5 separate regions of the Homo sapiens genome follow, and all the other regions are linked to region 1. Evidence: promoter capture Hi-C in 16 types of primary human blood cells and fetal thymus (Javierre and others, 2016). All regions are on one chromosome and are shown on one strand. Each heading gives the region's core, a stretch centred on a gene start or on the middle of the fragment in contact. The rest is flanking DNA. Distances are from core to core; before and after follow the strand shown. Region 1 holds the start of TBCK (TBC1 domain containing kinase). Region 2 overlaps OSTC (oligosaccharyltransferase complex non-catalytic subunit). Region 3 has its middle 3.3 kb from the start of OSTC. Region 4 has its middle 9.4 kb from the start of RPL34. Region 5 overlaps RPL34-DT (RPL34 divergent transcript).

The links. Contacts are between HindIII fragments. The CHiCAGO score rates a contact against its expected background, and 5 or more counts as called.
Region 2: a fragment that was not itself captured here is called in contact with the fragment with the promoter of TBCK in region 1 in 2 of 17 cell types (total B cells and activated CD4 T cells); the score reaches 5.4 in total B cells.
Region 3: a contact is called between a fragment that was not itself captured here and the fragment with the promoter of TBCK in region 1, in 5 of 17 cell types (total B cells, naive B cells, naive CD8 T cells and 2 more). The highest score is 14.7, in total B cells.
Region 4: a contact is called between a fragment that was not itself captured here and the fragment with the promoter of TBCK in region 1, in 1 of 17 cell types (total B cells). The highest score is 6.9, in total B cells.
Region 5: a contact is called between a fragment that was not itself captured here and the fragment with the promoter of TBCK in region 1, in 2 of 17 cell types (total B cells and naive B cells). The highest score is 16.7, in total B cells.

Annotation. Positions count from the first base shown.
Region 1 is chr4:106,314,712-106,317,789 of GRCh38, forward strand. TBCK (TBC1 domain containing kinase) reads right to left here and starts at 1,498. Exons shown (of 26, transcript NM_001163435.3): 1 at 1,220-1,498. AIMP1 (aminoacyl tRNA synthetase complex interacting multifunctional protein 1) reads left to right here and starts at 1,839. Exons shown (of 7, transcript NM_001142416.2): 1 at 1,839-1,883. RefSeq lists enhancers at 1,078-1,167, 1,248-1,307, 1,798-2,047. The HindIII fragment of the contact is 5,300 bases long and covers 1-3,078 here.
Region 2 is chr4:108,662,551-108,665,628 of GRCh38, forward strand. The region is part of intron 3 of OSTC (oligosaccharyltransferase complex non-catalytic subunit); the gene reads left to right. Among named protein-coding and RNA genes, the nearest start is that of OSTC, 13 kb to the left of the region's middle. The HindIII fragment of the contact is 723 bases long and covers 1,213-1,935 here.
Region 3 is chr4:108,645,745-108,648,822 of GRCh38, forward strand. No RefSeq gene overlaps it. Among named protein-coding and RNA genes, the nearest start is that of OSTC, 3.3 kb to the right of the region's middle. The HindIII fragment of the contact is 1,869 bases long and covers 529-2,397 here.
Region 4 is chr4:108,628,481-108,631,558 of GRCh38, forward strand. It overlaps a transcript of RPL34 not described here. Among named protein-coding and RNA genes, the nearest start is that of RPL34, 9.4 kb to the left of the region's middle. The HindIII fragment of the contact is 3,691 bases long and covers 1-3,078 here.
Region 5 is chr4:108,610,996-108,614,073 of GRCh38, forward strand. All of the region lies in intron 1 of RPL34-DT (RPL34 divergent transcript), which reads right to left. Among named protein-coding and RNA genes, the nearest start is that of RPL34-DT, 7.9 kb to the right of the region's middle. RefSeq lists an enhancer at 1-1,314. The HindIII fragment of the contact is 918 bases long and covers 1,067-1,984 here.

The DNA of each region.
Region 1 (3,078 bases), core at 248-2,747:
ACCTCCCGGGTTCAAGCGATTCTGTGCCTCAGCCTCCAGAGTGGCTGGGATTACAGGCGCCCGCCACCACGCCCGGCTAATTTTTGTATTTTTAGTAGAGACGGGGTTTCACCATCCTGGCCAGGCTGGTCTTGAACTCCTGACCTCAGGTGATCCACCCGCCTCGACCTCCCAAAGTGCTAGGACTACAGGCGTGAGCCACCGCGCCCGACCATTTTATTTTCAATCAGATGTCTTTATCATCACATAGCTGAAAATAAAATAACCAAATAAAACACAATGATCGAAAAAGATAAAACACTAATTAGCATAATCAGTGTTCTTTTTCCACTACCTCTTAAATGGTTGTACATAAAAAGGCTCACACACAAAAATACACACACATACATTCACTTACACCTCGTGAGTGGAAGAAAACTACCGGGGGAAAAAAAACGTAGAGATGAGAGATTAGATGAGGGAAACAGCAGTGCAAGCAGTTGGGCTTGAAAATTCATTCATTCAACAAATATTTTGAAGCCCCTATTTTAAGTCAGTTGTTTTTCCAGCTGGTGGGCAAAGGATAATGAACAAGTCAGACTCTGTGCCCTCAAAGAACTTAGAGTTTTAAACGACTCGAATGGGGAAAGAAAGTAAAAAATAGGGCAAAAGACGCCGATTTTATCATGAATAAAATTTCACATTTCTTCAACAGGAAAATGATACTAATTCATTTATTTTATATATACATTCTCTCAAGAGGTTATTTTTGTCTCAAATAGATAGAAACCAGGACAGGGATCCTTGAAAAGCAGCCACTGACAATCCTCAAGTAACTTCCTTCCTCTGCTTCACTTTCTCCTACTGCTCAAGGGGGTGTTACACTTTGACGACTGACTAAACCTCGAGGGCCAGAAACAAACCAAAGCAAAATTCTGCCTCCAAGGTGAGTAATGGAGGGGCGGATTCTAGATTCTCTAACCTCCTTTAGCCTTCCTTTGAGGCAGTGACAGAGCGATTACTAAGCCTACGGTTCCCAAACGACTCAGGTGAACCTGATTTACAGGAAAGGCGGGCTGTAGCTAGGGATGGAGACAGTACCTATCAGCAAGCGGCTCCACAGCTCGGTTCTCTATCTATTCTGAAGACATGCGGGGCCACTCACTGCTCCTGATAGTCCTCTACCTCCCACAGACCCCACCCACTACGACACGGAAAACTGGATTACCCAAATACCTGCCTCTGAGTCTGGGGACGCAGGCAAGCACAAAGACAAGGGGGATGGAGCTTCTACACAGGGCCCCAGCGCTGTCGCTGTGGCTGCTGCTGCCGCTACGGCTTAGTGCACCAGACGCTGCATTTCAGGTGCTCCTACAAAAGAGGCCACTCCTGGAACGCCGGGAGCTCAGACGCTGCCCTTTGCTCGCGAGCCAAGTCAGCCAAGGTTAACCTTCGCGGAACCCGGCGAGGAGCGCAAGCCTGGCCTTCCCCAAACACAGATCCGAGCTTTTCACCCTCTACCCTCCCCTCAGCCTGGCCTTTTCTTCCGCCCTCACAGCCACCGCGACCCAACGCTGAGGAAAGACCCCGACTTGTGGTGTCCTTCCCCTTGCCCAAACTGGCCACGAAAGGACATATAGCGAGAGAGAAAGAGGTGCGGGGGGACGGGGGGGGTCGATTGAAAATACTGGGTGAGGGAATGGAAGACGAGGAGCGTGGTATGGCAGGTTAATGGGACTGAGCACAGGAAGAGGAAGAAAGAATTGAGGGTTGAATCTGTAGAACACTCAGGCTTTCAGCAAGGACACCTCATTGGGTCCTTTCTCACTGCTATAGTACGCGGGTGGCTGGACCTACATGCTTCCTGCTGTGGCTGTCTCGGAACCCGTGGTCCTCCGCTTCATGTGAGTGACGTCGTGGCGGGTCACTCACTCGGGGATCGCCGATTGCGATCGTAGGGGTCTTCCTTCTCTAACTTGCCTCCAGGAGAGAGGACCTGGCCTGCGCTGCTAATGGGTAGTCCGTTCGCAGCAGGACCAGCCCTGGCCTAAGGAAACAGGAAAGAGTTTGAGACTTCCTTCTAAAGGAGCCACGTTTGAGAAATGGGATGCAGGCCTAAGTTAAGAATGCTACAGAAAAATATCGATCCCTAAGCGTATTTACTGTTATGTGAATGTGTGTGTCAAAGGACTTAGGTGCTTTGGGGGAGAGGAGGGTGAAGACAGGAATTTATTCATTGAGCGAATAGTTATTAAGCGCCCACTCTATTCCAGACACCGTTCTAGGCATTAGGTGAACAGCAGTGAACAAAACAGACGGAAATCTGTGTCTACTTGTAGCTCACATTTTAGAGAGGAAGGCACATACTAAGCAAAGTAATTAGAAACATACTGTATTTTAGGTCGTGATAGTCCTGAAGAGAAACGTAAAGCAGGGAAGAAGGGTATAAAGTGACACAGGAAGGTCTTGCTGAAAAGATGACTTTTAAGTAAAGGGCTGACAGAAGTGGGAGATTTAACCACGCGAATATCTTGGGAAAGTGCAGTCAGACAGAGGGACCAGCCATTGCAGAGGTCATGAAGCAGAAACGTGCTAGAATAGCAAGGAGGCCTGTAGGGCAGAGTTGAGTGAAGGGTTTAGTCCTTCACTGGAGATTAAATCAAGGCGAGCAGGTCATGAAGATCTTGAGGACATCTAACTTTTATTCTAAATGAAATAGGACTTTGGAGCGTTTTGAGCAGTAGAGTGATGGGCTCTGACTTCCTTTTAAGAGGGTCACTCTTTAAGGAAAATACACAGAGGAGGACGTGGTAGGAGAAAGGAGACCAATAAGAAGAGTTTTGCAATAATCCAGAGGAAGCATAATGGTGGTTTGACTATGGGTGGTAAGAAATGGCCAGTTATATTCTTGATGCACTTAATTTGGATATGTAAGAGTATTATAGATGACAGGGTTAATTTTATTTAATTAGGCTTTGGAGGACACTTGAAAAATGAATTCCAGTGTGAGTTTCAGAGTGGCAAACACAAGTTAAAATCATGGCTTTGCTATGTGGTACTTGAAGGGATTCAGATAAGTCATGTAATTTTCCTGGATCT
Region 2 (3,078 bases), core at 324-2,823, 2.3 Mb after region 1:
TGTCATGGTGATCAGTATATACCTATTGTAATTTCATCCTTTCCCTCTTCTTCTTTTCAGTTTGCTGGTTATTCTATGACTTGAGGGAATAGATAACCTAGCTATTAATTACCTTTTAAATCAGTTCTGGCTGAAGGAGAGCTTAATGGCTTGGCTTTGTAACCATACTTTCAGATGTTTGAGAATCTCTTTCATTTCCTTCCAGATTTGGAGCTATATTTTAGAGAGTTAAGGCTGTAGAGAAACTAGCAGCTGGATTGTTTCAGCGACTAAAAAGCTGATATCCGAGGTTCATTTTTAGCAAATAAGGGACGTAATTCATTCTAAAGAAACAAAACATTTGTACAGCTGCTGAGGACAATGTGTAGTAGAGAGGGTGAGGAATTTGGAGTCCAGTTTTGGCCTGCCACTTAATAGCTCTGAGACTTTGGATTAGTTCTGTGAACTCTCTTGGCCTCAGGTTCCAAACCTGTTAAATGAAGTATTAATGTACCTTGGGGAGTTACAGTTGTCAACATTAAATGAGAAGGTGTGCTCTCAATCATAATGTAAGTGTTAATCAATGTCAGTGTTTTCATTCTAAAGATAGAGTCCTAAAAGTTCTGTTTCAAGTTAGATTATGGCCACAGTTTCAAAAATAAATGAATAAACCATTACTGTTTTTGTTTTGTTTCGTATTGAGACGGAGTCTCGCTCTGTTGCCCAGGCTGGAGTGCAGTGGCGTGATCTCGGCTCACTACAAACTCTGCCTCCCAGGTACATACCATTCTCCTGCCTCAGCCTCCCTAGTAGCTGGGACTACAGGCGCCCACCACCATGCCCAGCTCATTTTTTGTATTTTTAGTAGAGATGGGGTTTCACCGTGTTAGCCAGTGATCTCCTAACCTCGTGATCCGCCTGCCACGGCCTCCCAAAGTGCTAGGATTACAGGCGTGAGCCAAGGTGCCCAGCCTGAATAAACCATTACTGTTTCTAAAAGAAGAAAGTGAGGTTTCCATTTCTAGGACCATTGGAGTGGGTAGTAGACCAGGAGTGAGGAGACTTGTGTTTTAATGCTGGTTTTGTTCTTTTCTGGCCTTGTGATTTTTGAGCAAACGACTTAATTGCTGTCACACTCTTCATCTGTAAAATGAGACTAATCCTTGTTTCACACACCTTTTTAAGATTGTTGCAAGGGTTAAATGCAATAATGAATGTGGTAGTGTTTTGAGAAGCTTCTATTAGTGCTAACCTAGCACAGAGCTTGCCTTAATATACAGAGGCACTGAGTGATTATTGAAAGAATGGCCTTAAAGATTAAATAGAAGGTCCTTCATGGTGGCTTCTCCTGTCTCTAGTTGGTTTTTGAGTTCTTGATTTACTTTTTATTGTATTTATCTACGGTTTTACTTATGTAAAATTCTCACAGGCCTGAATATAAGATTATGAAATTTTCTGGGTCAAGAGAGGGGGCTAAATGATTGAGTATATATTATAGTAAGTGTATTTCAACAATTTTATTTTTATTTCTTATCAAGAAGTATAGTAATGTATTTGTTCTTCTTTTCTTTTTTCTAACATGGTATCGTTATAACATTATAATATTTCTTAGTATCTCCCAAATTGTCCTTAAGGTAAAACTATTTTAAGTTTGGCAGCTTTGAACAGGACATGTCTATTTAAATATTCTTTTCTATCTAAATATAGGTTGACAAGCATGGGTCACCCACTAGTTACAAGGAAGGATACCATAATATATAGCTATATTAAGAGATAGAGTACAAAGTGTATATTCACATATAGGTATATGCAAATTACAAGAAGTTACTCCTAATGAGTCTTTAGTACTCTTGTTTCATAGTGTAAGCTAGCTGTTGGGTAACTTCTACTACAGAGTGCAGATATTAGTGGATGCTTGCTTAAAATCTTCTTGAACCTTTTTTTTTTTTCTTGTGAAGCTTATGTTTTAAAGTATCCTTTTTGTGACACATCAGGCATTATAGTAGCAAATTTATGTGAGGTCTTTAAATTCAATGTATATATCCAAAGAACCTTTTAATTTTTAATTTTTTTTTTTTTGTGGGGGACGGAGTCTGGCTCTGTTGCCAGGCTGGAGTGCGGTGGCATGATCTCGGTTCACTGCAATCTCCGCCTCCCAGGTTCAAGTGATTCTCCTGCCTCGGCGTCCTGAGTAGCTGGGACTACAGGCATGCACTACCACACCCAGGTAATTTTTGTATTTTTAGTAGAGACGGGGTTTCACTGTGTTGGCCAGGATGGTTTCAATCTCTTGACCTCGTGATCCGCCTGCCTCAGCCTCCCAAAGTGCTGGGATTACAGGCGTGAGCCACTGTGCCCAGCCAAACCTTTTTATTTTTAAATTTTTGTTCAGTTTTGGATTTGGGAGGAGGTGAGAAGTATCTGGTTGTCAAGGTGGTTGTGTTAGATGAAAGTTCTCTTTACTCAGAGTGTGTGGATTGGCCAGGCTGATACAGCAGAAAGAAGAGTGTGTGAGTTCTAGGTTGATTGCATTGGCTGAACATAAGTCTAATCATACAGGGAGTCAAGTGAGTTCAGAAGCTGAAAGGGAGGGAAGTCACATTTTTGAGTGTTTGCTGTGTGCCAAGCACTGGAGGAGACCTCAGTATTGTCAAGTAGTTTTTAAATCTTACGTTACCAGTGAAGAAACTTGGGACTCTAAAAATAGCAGCTAACATTTGTGAAGTGCATGTAACTACGAGTAGCAATTACTATATGAGTAGATTCTCTTATAATCCTTAAAACCCTTTGAGGTAACTCCATTTTACAGATGAGGAAACTGAGTGAGGTTTGCCAGGCTCATGCAGTAAGTGGTAGAAGCAGGGTCAAAAGAAGAGGCGTTCTGAAGCCGTCAGTGAGTATAAGGTGTTGTAAACCTTTTTTTTTTTTTTTTTTTTGAGACGGATTCTTGCACTGTTGCCCAGGCTGGAGCACGGGGTTTCACCATGTTAGCCAGGATGTTTTGTGTTTTGTTTTGTTTTGTTTTGTTTTTTCTTTTTTTTTTTTTTGAGATGGAGTTTCACTCTGTTTGCCCAGGCTGGAGTGCAATGGCACAATCTT
Region 3 (3,078 bases), core at 213-2,712, 2.3 Mb after region 1:
GAGGCTGTTGTGCAAAGCCATCTACTTTCAGAGAGTGCCAGCACATTGTGTGGAACTATCTGTAAATCAGGCTTTCTTCTTCAGTCAACTGGTCATAGGTTGCCTGAAGGTATAATGCCATAGATATAGGTTGAGAGAAAAGAGACAATGTGGCAGGAATGTGGGCCATATGCATTTGAAACTATTTTTTGTACAACTTACTTGTACCTTCAAGATCTACTTGAGCTTGATCTTATGCACAACGCTTTCATTTGATGATAGAATGCTGCTGTAGACACCCACGTTTATTGGATGATAGATTAGACAATGCCAAATTGTCAAATGATGGGTAGTTCAAGTTTCATGGTAGCTTGTTGCCCACGGTCAATAGTTTCATCTCTACTAAGGTTCAGTGGCAAGCCTAGAGTCATTTGTCAATGACTGCCTGTGAAATAATCTCAGTGGCAAGCCTGGAGATTATTTCTTGACAGAGGATGACATAGGTTTGCGCCAAAGCTCTAAGGCTCTGTGCTACAGTGGCTTGTCAAAAGCTTCATAAAGCATGCCTATCTACCACAGACGTTACAAGTAATACTGGATCTACTAAGTTGTATGGCCCAAGTGGCAGAGCAGTTTGCTATTGAAGAACCTTTGCTTATTCAGGATCCCAATCAAAACTAGCAGCTTATTGGATTGCTCAGCAAATACATCAAAATGGTATGACCAAATGAAGTATATGTTGCAAGTGGTCCATCCATTGAGCATTGTGCAGCAAATATCCTTTATTTTGAAAGAGCTTTCTATGTATTACAGATCACTTAACCCCTAGACATTTCCCTGAGGAGACCCTGACATTTTATTGTGCTTATTTTTCCATCCTCTGGCATGCATTTGTCCTAACAATATATCTACTGTAGTTGCTACTTAGATCACTGTCTAATGAGCATATTATCAATGCAATGTCATAGTGTGATATTCTGTGAATGAGAAGGCAATCAAAGTTCCTGCAAATCAGATTATGACATAGAGCTGGGGAATTGATATAATTCTGAAATGGAGGTGTGTTGCTGACTCTGCCAGTTGAAAGCAAACTTCTTCTGATGATCTTTACCATAGGCATAAGTAGAAACAGCATTTGCCAGAACAGCTAACAGGTGCCACGAGATGTGTTGATGTGCTCCAGCGACAAAACCACAAGTGGAATAGCAGCAGCAGTTGGAGTCACCACATGATTAAATTTACAATAATCCACTGTTGTTCTCCAAGGTCCATCTTTCTTTTGCAAGGGCCAAGTTAATTGAGCGAAATGTGGCAGAAATCACTACTCAGCATCTTTCAAGTCTTTGATAGCACATCAGCCACTGAAGTCACTTTAGATTTATTATTTCTGTAGGTAAAAGCAGTTCTACTGGTTACACTTAGACTTTCCTGCCATAAAAGCCCTCATAATATGGGTCAGGAAACCAATATGGTGATTTTTCCATTTGCTGAGTACATTTATCCCAATTGTACATTCTAGAACTCAGTGATCTCACTACCTCTGGAAGGAGAACTAAAATTAGAATAGTGATAATGGGAAACTCGTTCCATATGTGTCTCTAATATTTGAATAAATTAATTATTTTACATTGGGCAGGTTCCTATGTTTTACTTGCATAATTTTATTTCTTATTTTCATTATTTATTTGTTTATTCATTTATTTTTAGAGATGGAGTTTCTCTCTTGTTGCCCAGGCTGGAGTGCAATGGCACGATCTCGGCTCACTGCAACGTCCGCCACTCGGGTTCAAGCCATTCTCCTGCCTCAGCCTTGCAAGTAGCTGGGATTAGAGGCATACACCACCATGCCCAGCTAATTTTGTATTTTTTAGTAAAGATGGGGTTTCATCATGTTAGTCAGGCTGGGTTCGAACTGCTGACCTCAGGTGAGGAGGCCTCCCAAAGTGCTGGGATTACAGGCATGAGCCACCGTGCCCAGCCATTACTTGCATATAATTTTAAAAACAACCTTCAAAATGTAAAATAACTACAACAATAACACCAAACCCCACAATATTGCATTAGAAAGAGTTTTTATTTAGATCATGAGACATAATAGTGCTTCGTACTCATGCTTATACAGAACCTAGCGCGAAAGAACATAATTCAAGACACTGTCAACCAAACTGCAAAATGTCTTCATAAATAAAAATCCAGGTTAATATTAGTATTATTATCCTACAAAAAACAAAGCTACTAATTTCCTCTCCAACACATATTTAAATAAACAGAAATCAACAATATTTGTAGCCTTTGTAATTCTAGTTTGTTTAGAATTTAGTTAAAAACTTATTTGTGGAGCTCTCCCTCTCTTTTGGCTGGCAGAACCATTTCTGACTTCAAGGCTTTTTATTAAAATATTCTACAATGAACACAGAAAGCTTGGTAGATACCATCTTTACACTTTTTTCTTCTTTGAATATATATTTGCTTGTGCACAGTAAGAATTATTAACATTTGCTTTTATATGTAGCTTAAGATGACAGCTCTACTGCATATTATATTGTAAACTGTGTTTCTCTCAACATTTTTCCTTCTTCATCTATAAATAGAAAACCACTGAATGATTGATTATATGTTTATTTAAGGGCATGCTCTAATGCCCACTGCTATATTCATTATTTCTTTGGTTTTCAGTTACAGAGTTTATGTTATGTTTAAATAGAACATTTTTCTGTAGGAATTGTGGGTTAGGACATGGATGATAACAGATATGCATATCTTACTCATGAAAGGTCTCTTTTATACGTGGCTTATAGAATATTACAAACTCATGTTGAAAAATATTTCAAAGCTTAAGAGGTTAAAAAATAATAATGAATTGGTTCCTGGAGCAAACTTACTTTTTGGAAAGTGATAGTAATAATTTAACATATAGATGAATGCAGTGTGTTCTGACTTGGCAGTTTTATTATTTATGAAATTAATTTTTCATTTAAAAATTATATATTAATAATTTATATGTTTTCCACAATGTAGGTAGAAATTATGTGTCCCTAGTATACACAGGAAGAAGGATAAGTATATAAACGTATACCATTTTAAACGTCTTAAATCTAT
Region 4 (3,078 bases), core at 389-2,888, 2.3 Mb after region 1:
AGATGTAATTTCTGAAAAAATTGCTGTGGAAGAGAAAGCCTATTTGCCACCCCAACCTGAGTTCTTGCTGGTGGAAGGAGGCTCCTCCCTCTCCTTGCTGCTCCAAGTTAGGTAGAACAACATGACTGGACACAGGCTCTAGCTGGTGGGAACTAGCAAGTTTCAGCAAAATATGAAATGGGTGACCTTTGAGAAATGTAAGGAAGTTAAAGAATTGAGGTGTACATTCTTTTCCAAGAATTCTTGGTATGTTAAATGGTTTTACTTAACAAACAGCTTTGTAGACTATTTGGAAAGTTTGGAAAAATAGAATGATAAAAAATCTCAATTTCACTACTTACTATTATTATTATTATTTTGGAGACAGAGTCTCACTCTATCACCCAGGCTGGAGTGCAGTGACGCGATCTCAGCTTACTGCAACCTCCACCTCCTGGGTTTAAGCCATTCTGCCTCAGCCTCCCGAGTAGCTGGGATTACAGGCGCCTGCCACCACATCTGGCTAATTTTTGTATTTTTAGTAGAGACGGGTTCGCCATGTTGGCCAGGCTGGTCTCGAACTCCTGACCTCAGAATGTCCGCCCGCCTCGGCCTGCTAAAGTGTTGGGATGACAGGCTTGAGCCACCACGCTGGGCCACTACTCAGTCATTTTTAATAGTTGAATGTTTTTCCTCCCATCTTGTTTTCCATGAATAAAATAGACATTTTAAGTCAAAACTGGAAGCCCACTGCATATATAAACTTTTAACTCCTTTTTTTCTCCCACATAACCCCTGTGATATTTCTTTTCAAAGAATATTTTAGTAGCTGCCTGCAGTATGAAATTTACATGCTATAATTTAGACATTCCCTTTATTTTGAACATTTGGGCTATTTCCAGTTTTTCTCTATTTTAAAACATGAGCCTTCTTATATATCTGATTATTTCACTTATGCTGAATTGTTTTTTAATATTCACAAGTTGGTGTTGAAGTTCAGTATTTAGAAGACAAAGAGCATTGACGGGTGTGAACATAGTAACGACTCTGTCCAAGTGACCCAAATGGATTCTATAACTCTTCTGGGTTTTGATTTTTGTAAAAAACAAAATGAAGCTCTTATTGAATCCAGTTCTATGTGTGTGACAAAGTATTCTTGACAGGTTCCTAAAAAGACATGTGAATGTAGTCAGTGGTTTTCTTTTTAAAGTCTAATATTTCTCCTTCCGTTGAATTGCTTATAAATTCTGTTAGAAGGTTGAAAGGGTTCTTTTACCCTTAAAAATATAAAATCTCCAAATGTTTAAGTAAGCAAATCAAGTTTGTTTTAGCAACTTAATAACATCCTATAATCTTTACCCCAGTGATTAAGAGCTTGGGCTTCCAGAATTTTGATAGTCAGGGCTATGTCCAACTTTCACTGTAAACTATGCATCTTATCAAACCAACTAAAATCACATATAATCCTCACAGAGTAAGATTGTGAAGCAGTTCTGAATGTTATGATTTTTCCCTAAAGTATATTATTTATTGCCGGTAATAATTATTCTGCCATTATTAGGTCCAATAGAAAAAGTTGGTGTGCTGGAGCTACCTCACCTCAGCTTGAGAGAGCCAGTTGTGTGCATCTCTTTCCAGTTTTGCATCCAGTGACGTCTGCTTGGCATCTTGAGATTGTTATGGTGAGAGTATTTACACCTCAGCAAATGCTGCAAAATCCTGTTTTCCCCCAGAGAGCTGGAGGTTAAATACTACCAGCACATCCCTAGATACTACTCAAGTTACAGTATATGATCACTAATATAGTATGCTCTTGGTACCAGGAGCTCTGATATATATCTGGTACATGTTTGATAATGACTTGATTGTTATTATAAGTACTTATTAATACTTCGATTCTGTAAAGAGTTTAGGGTTTGATTTTATAAAATCCAAAATGAGCCTTTTATTGAATCCAGTTCTCTATGTGACCAGTTCTCTGTATGAATGGAAGGGAAAAGAATTAAAAATCTTGCAAAGGGGAAAGTTCCATCTTCTTAAAAACTAGATGTGGTAAACAACTATTCTAAACCAGGAGTAGAAAAGCTAACACTATCTGGCTGGACACGGTGGCTCACACCTGTAATCCCAGCACTTTGGGAGGCCAAGGTGGGTGGATCATGAGGTCAGGAGATGGAGACCATCCTAGCTAACACAGTGAAACCCCGTCTCTACTAAAAATACAAAAAATTAGCCGGGCATGGTGGCAGGCGCCTGTAGTCACAGCTACCCGGAGGCTGAGGCAGAAGAATGGCGTGAACCTGGGAGGTGGAGCTTGCAGTGAGCCGAGATTGCGCCACTGCACTCCAGCCTGGGCTACAGAGCGAGACTCCGTCTCAAAAAAAAAAAAGAAAAGAAGTTAACATTGTCTTTATGAATCTCATTTCTATCTCAGCTAGTTCATGCTACTGTAACTACCACGGACTGAGTGGCTTGAACAACATTTATTTCTCACTGTTCTGGAAGCTAAGTCCAAGATCAAGGCACTGGCAGATTCCATGTCTCTTCCTGTTTGCAGATGGCCATCTCCTTGCTGTATCCACATGTGGTGGAGAGATCACCTGTCTCATGTCTTTTCTTAGAAGGGCACTTATCTCGTCATCAGGGCTCCATCCTCAAAATCTAATAATATATACCTCCCCAAAGCCTCACCATCCCATTGGAAGTTAGTACTCCAACATATAAATTTTGAGGGGGATGCAAACATTCAGTCCCTAACATTTTCTAAATTAAAGGATAAGATCCGCAATAATTCTGGATGAAAAGATGCTTTTGGGTTTCCAAAATATTAGCTATTCAATAATTTTTAATAAATCTTAAATGTTTCTGGTTAACCTGAAGGATTATGTAAGTATTTTTGCCAAACATTTACATTCTTTTATAATTGCTTTAGCTTTCATTCATTTACTCGATAAATATTTATTAGAAACTACCATGTACCAGAAACTATGATGCTGGATAATTGTTAATACAGTAGTCAACAAAGCAGATGAGACTCTTCCCTTGGCCTCATGGCACACAGGAGAGACAATGTTAAATGGGGAACATATAAATACATTT
Region 5 (3,078 bases), core at 276-2,775, 2.3 Mb after region 1:
GAAAGGAGAAAAAAAATAAGTGAAACTACCTTCTCATGTACTTCAGGGTTTTCCTCCCTTCTGAGTTTAATATGAATCAAACAGGTGTGCATTCAAAGCATGCAAGTGTGTCTTCATTGGCTTTTAATCATCAGCTTGAAGAAAATTCAGATCTCTCAGAAAGAGAGAAAAGTAAACAGCTGAGCACTGTGACTCATTTACACTTCAAATATACTTTGAATTGGTTATTCCTCAATTAATCAAATAGCTGGTGTATCCCTAAAGTAGTATAAAGTGACGCACTGTGTGAAATCAATTTTTCTTTCCAAAATCATTAAATCCAGTAGCCTGTGACTACATCCCTGCTAATTCTGGTACCAGTCCTTTCCTCCTCCATTAACTTTGGCACGCCTAACAGCCTGTCAAGAATAATTTCCCAGGACGTAAATAATTCAGAAATTAAAAATTAATAAATAATAACAGAGAACTACTGGGAAATAGGCTGGGTCAATTAGTGCGCTCTGCATTCTGTTTCTTCACAGCAGGGGGAGGCAGCCACATTCGTTACTTGAATCTTCCTTTCGATTCTGCAGTCTGATTTACAGCTCTTCATTACTGGATCCAGTCAGACGCAATTACCTCCATCACTATCTCAGTTCCTAACTTCAAAGAAACGAACGTTTTCTTGTCTGCTTTTTTTCTCCTTGAAGCAGGCTCAGCTTGACATCCCTGGAATTTCTACCACGCAGACTAATTAATAAGTCTTCGACTTATCATATTCACTTCTCTTCTTTGATGTGCTACCTTAGTCAATCATCCCATTTAATTAGAATTTCAATGATAACTTTACTTATCTTGTGGCTAGATGTAAATTAAAATAATGGGATTTTAATTCTCTTTCGTATGGGGTTATGACATTTTGGAAGAAAAAGTTTCAACACAAACATGATATTATGTACTTTTTACTTTTCATGTGGGGGTGGGGGAGCATTTTGCAAAATTATTTTCTTCTTGCTACAAAAGAGTATTGCTGTTGAGCAAGCAATAATGAAAATGCACTGGATTTTTCTATAGCATCTTTTCACCAAGCTTTCATAGGAAAACAATTGTCTTCATTTGCATAAATAATTGGAACAAGACACAGGACGTGGAACAAGACACAAAGGCAGTGGCTACGTTTTGGGAAAAAAAAAAAAAAAAGGATCTCCAGAAAGTCAAGGAGTTGACACACTAACCCTTTTAACTCTTTTGCCCTTTTCTGTCAATCCATGCTATGTTTCCATTTTGATAAATTCTATAGTGGTTTTTCTAGAGTTCCCCAAAATAACACAAGGAAATAAAAATGTTCTCCTAAGAACACACCAAACATTAGTAAGGTATAAGGTGTAACAGTGATGTGCAAAACTGGTTATAAGGAAGAGCAGAAGGCAGCATTTCATTTCTAGAAAACAATACTAAGACCATTTATCTATTGAGCAGCCATGGTGTGCCAGCCTCAGCTACGTGCTTTATCTCCGTTAATTCCCGCAGCACACCCACAATATGGGATTCCCACTTCCATGTTACAGATAAAGAGACAGTCTCAGTGAGGTTAACTTGCTTTCTGAAGTTCACAAAGGTAGCACGTGAGGAGAAAGAAATCAAAAGACAAGGCACGAGAGAAACAATTTAAGCCTTTAAGCATAGCATTTAAAACTTTCCATCGTCTGGCTTCAAACTGCTTGCTAAACTCACTCTCTTCCTACTTTACTACATTAACTCATCCAGAATAAAACTCCAGGCATGAGTTTAGTATCTACTGTATTATACCTTATTAATAATATATGCCTTATTAATACATTTTTGATGGTTGCTTTAATGCTTATAGACATTGGCAGAAATTCAGTCATTGTGGATGTAAATAGGGGGCATGTTTGTATATAAAACACCATGGTGACCTCAATCATTATAAATACATTGTTTTTAAATAGCAAGTACAAACAGAAAATCATATACTATATATACAAGCTTAAAAGAAGAAAATAAGCTTTGCTCAGATTTTCTTATTTTTTCCCAGGAATAAAATTATTAGCTGTTTCATTGGTTGCTTTTAAAAAAGTTACTAACAATAGGAACATCAATGGGAATTGCACATAATTATTCTGCCCTTAATCTCAATCATTCCCTTCCTCCACCCTCAGTAACAATGTCCAGTAAGACAAGAAGCAGAGGTTACAATGACCAATAGAAATTTATTTCATTAGTAAGATGTGAAACCACTGTATTTATACCATTTTGAATCTAACCTTTCGGGGATTTAGTACAGTTGTTCTTTAACAATAGAACTTCGCTCATTTGCTACTTAAGACATGATTATTTAAATTAAAGTTAATTGGTTTCCTTACTCCCCTTTAGGGCTTTAGGCTCAGAACATTTCTATTAGAAAAATCTAATTTGTTTCAAACTCCTATTTCTAAAATTTACAGTGGTTATTTAGAGTGGCTCTGATATTTTAACTCTTTGTAGCAAAACTTGTACAATGTGTTTGTGTTTTAAGCTAAGTGTTATTACCAAAAAGTCAAAAAGTTAAATTTTTTTTAAACTTTATAAAGTAAAAAAGTAACAGTAAGCTTATTAAGGTTAGTCTATTATTGAAGAAAAAACTTTTTATAAATTTAGTGTATATAAAACATATATATAGTGTGTATATAGAGTATATATATTTATCTTTTTATATATAAATATATATATAGTGTATACAAAGTGTATAGTGTTTATAAAGTCTACCATAGTGTATAGTAATGTCCTAGGCCTTCCCATTCACTCACCACTCACTCACTGACTCACCCAGAGCAACTTCCAGTCCTGCAAGCTCCCTTTATAGTCAGTGCCCTATACAGGTGTACCATTATCTTTTATATCATATTTTTCTTCTACCTTTTCTATGTTTAGATATGTTTAGATACACAAATACTTACCATTGTGTTACAATTGCCTACACTATTCACTGCAGTAACATACTGTACAGGTTTGTAGACTAGAAGCAGAAGGCTATACTATAAAGCCTAGGTGTGCAGTAGACTCTACCATCTAGGTTTGTGTAAGTACACTCTATGATGT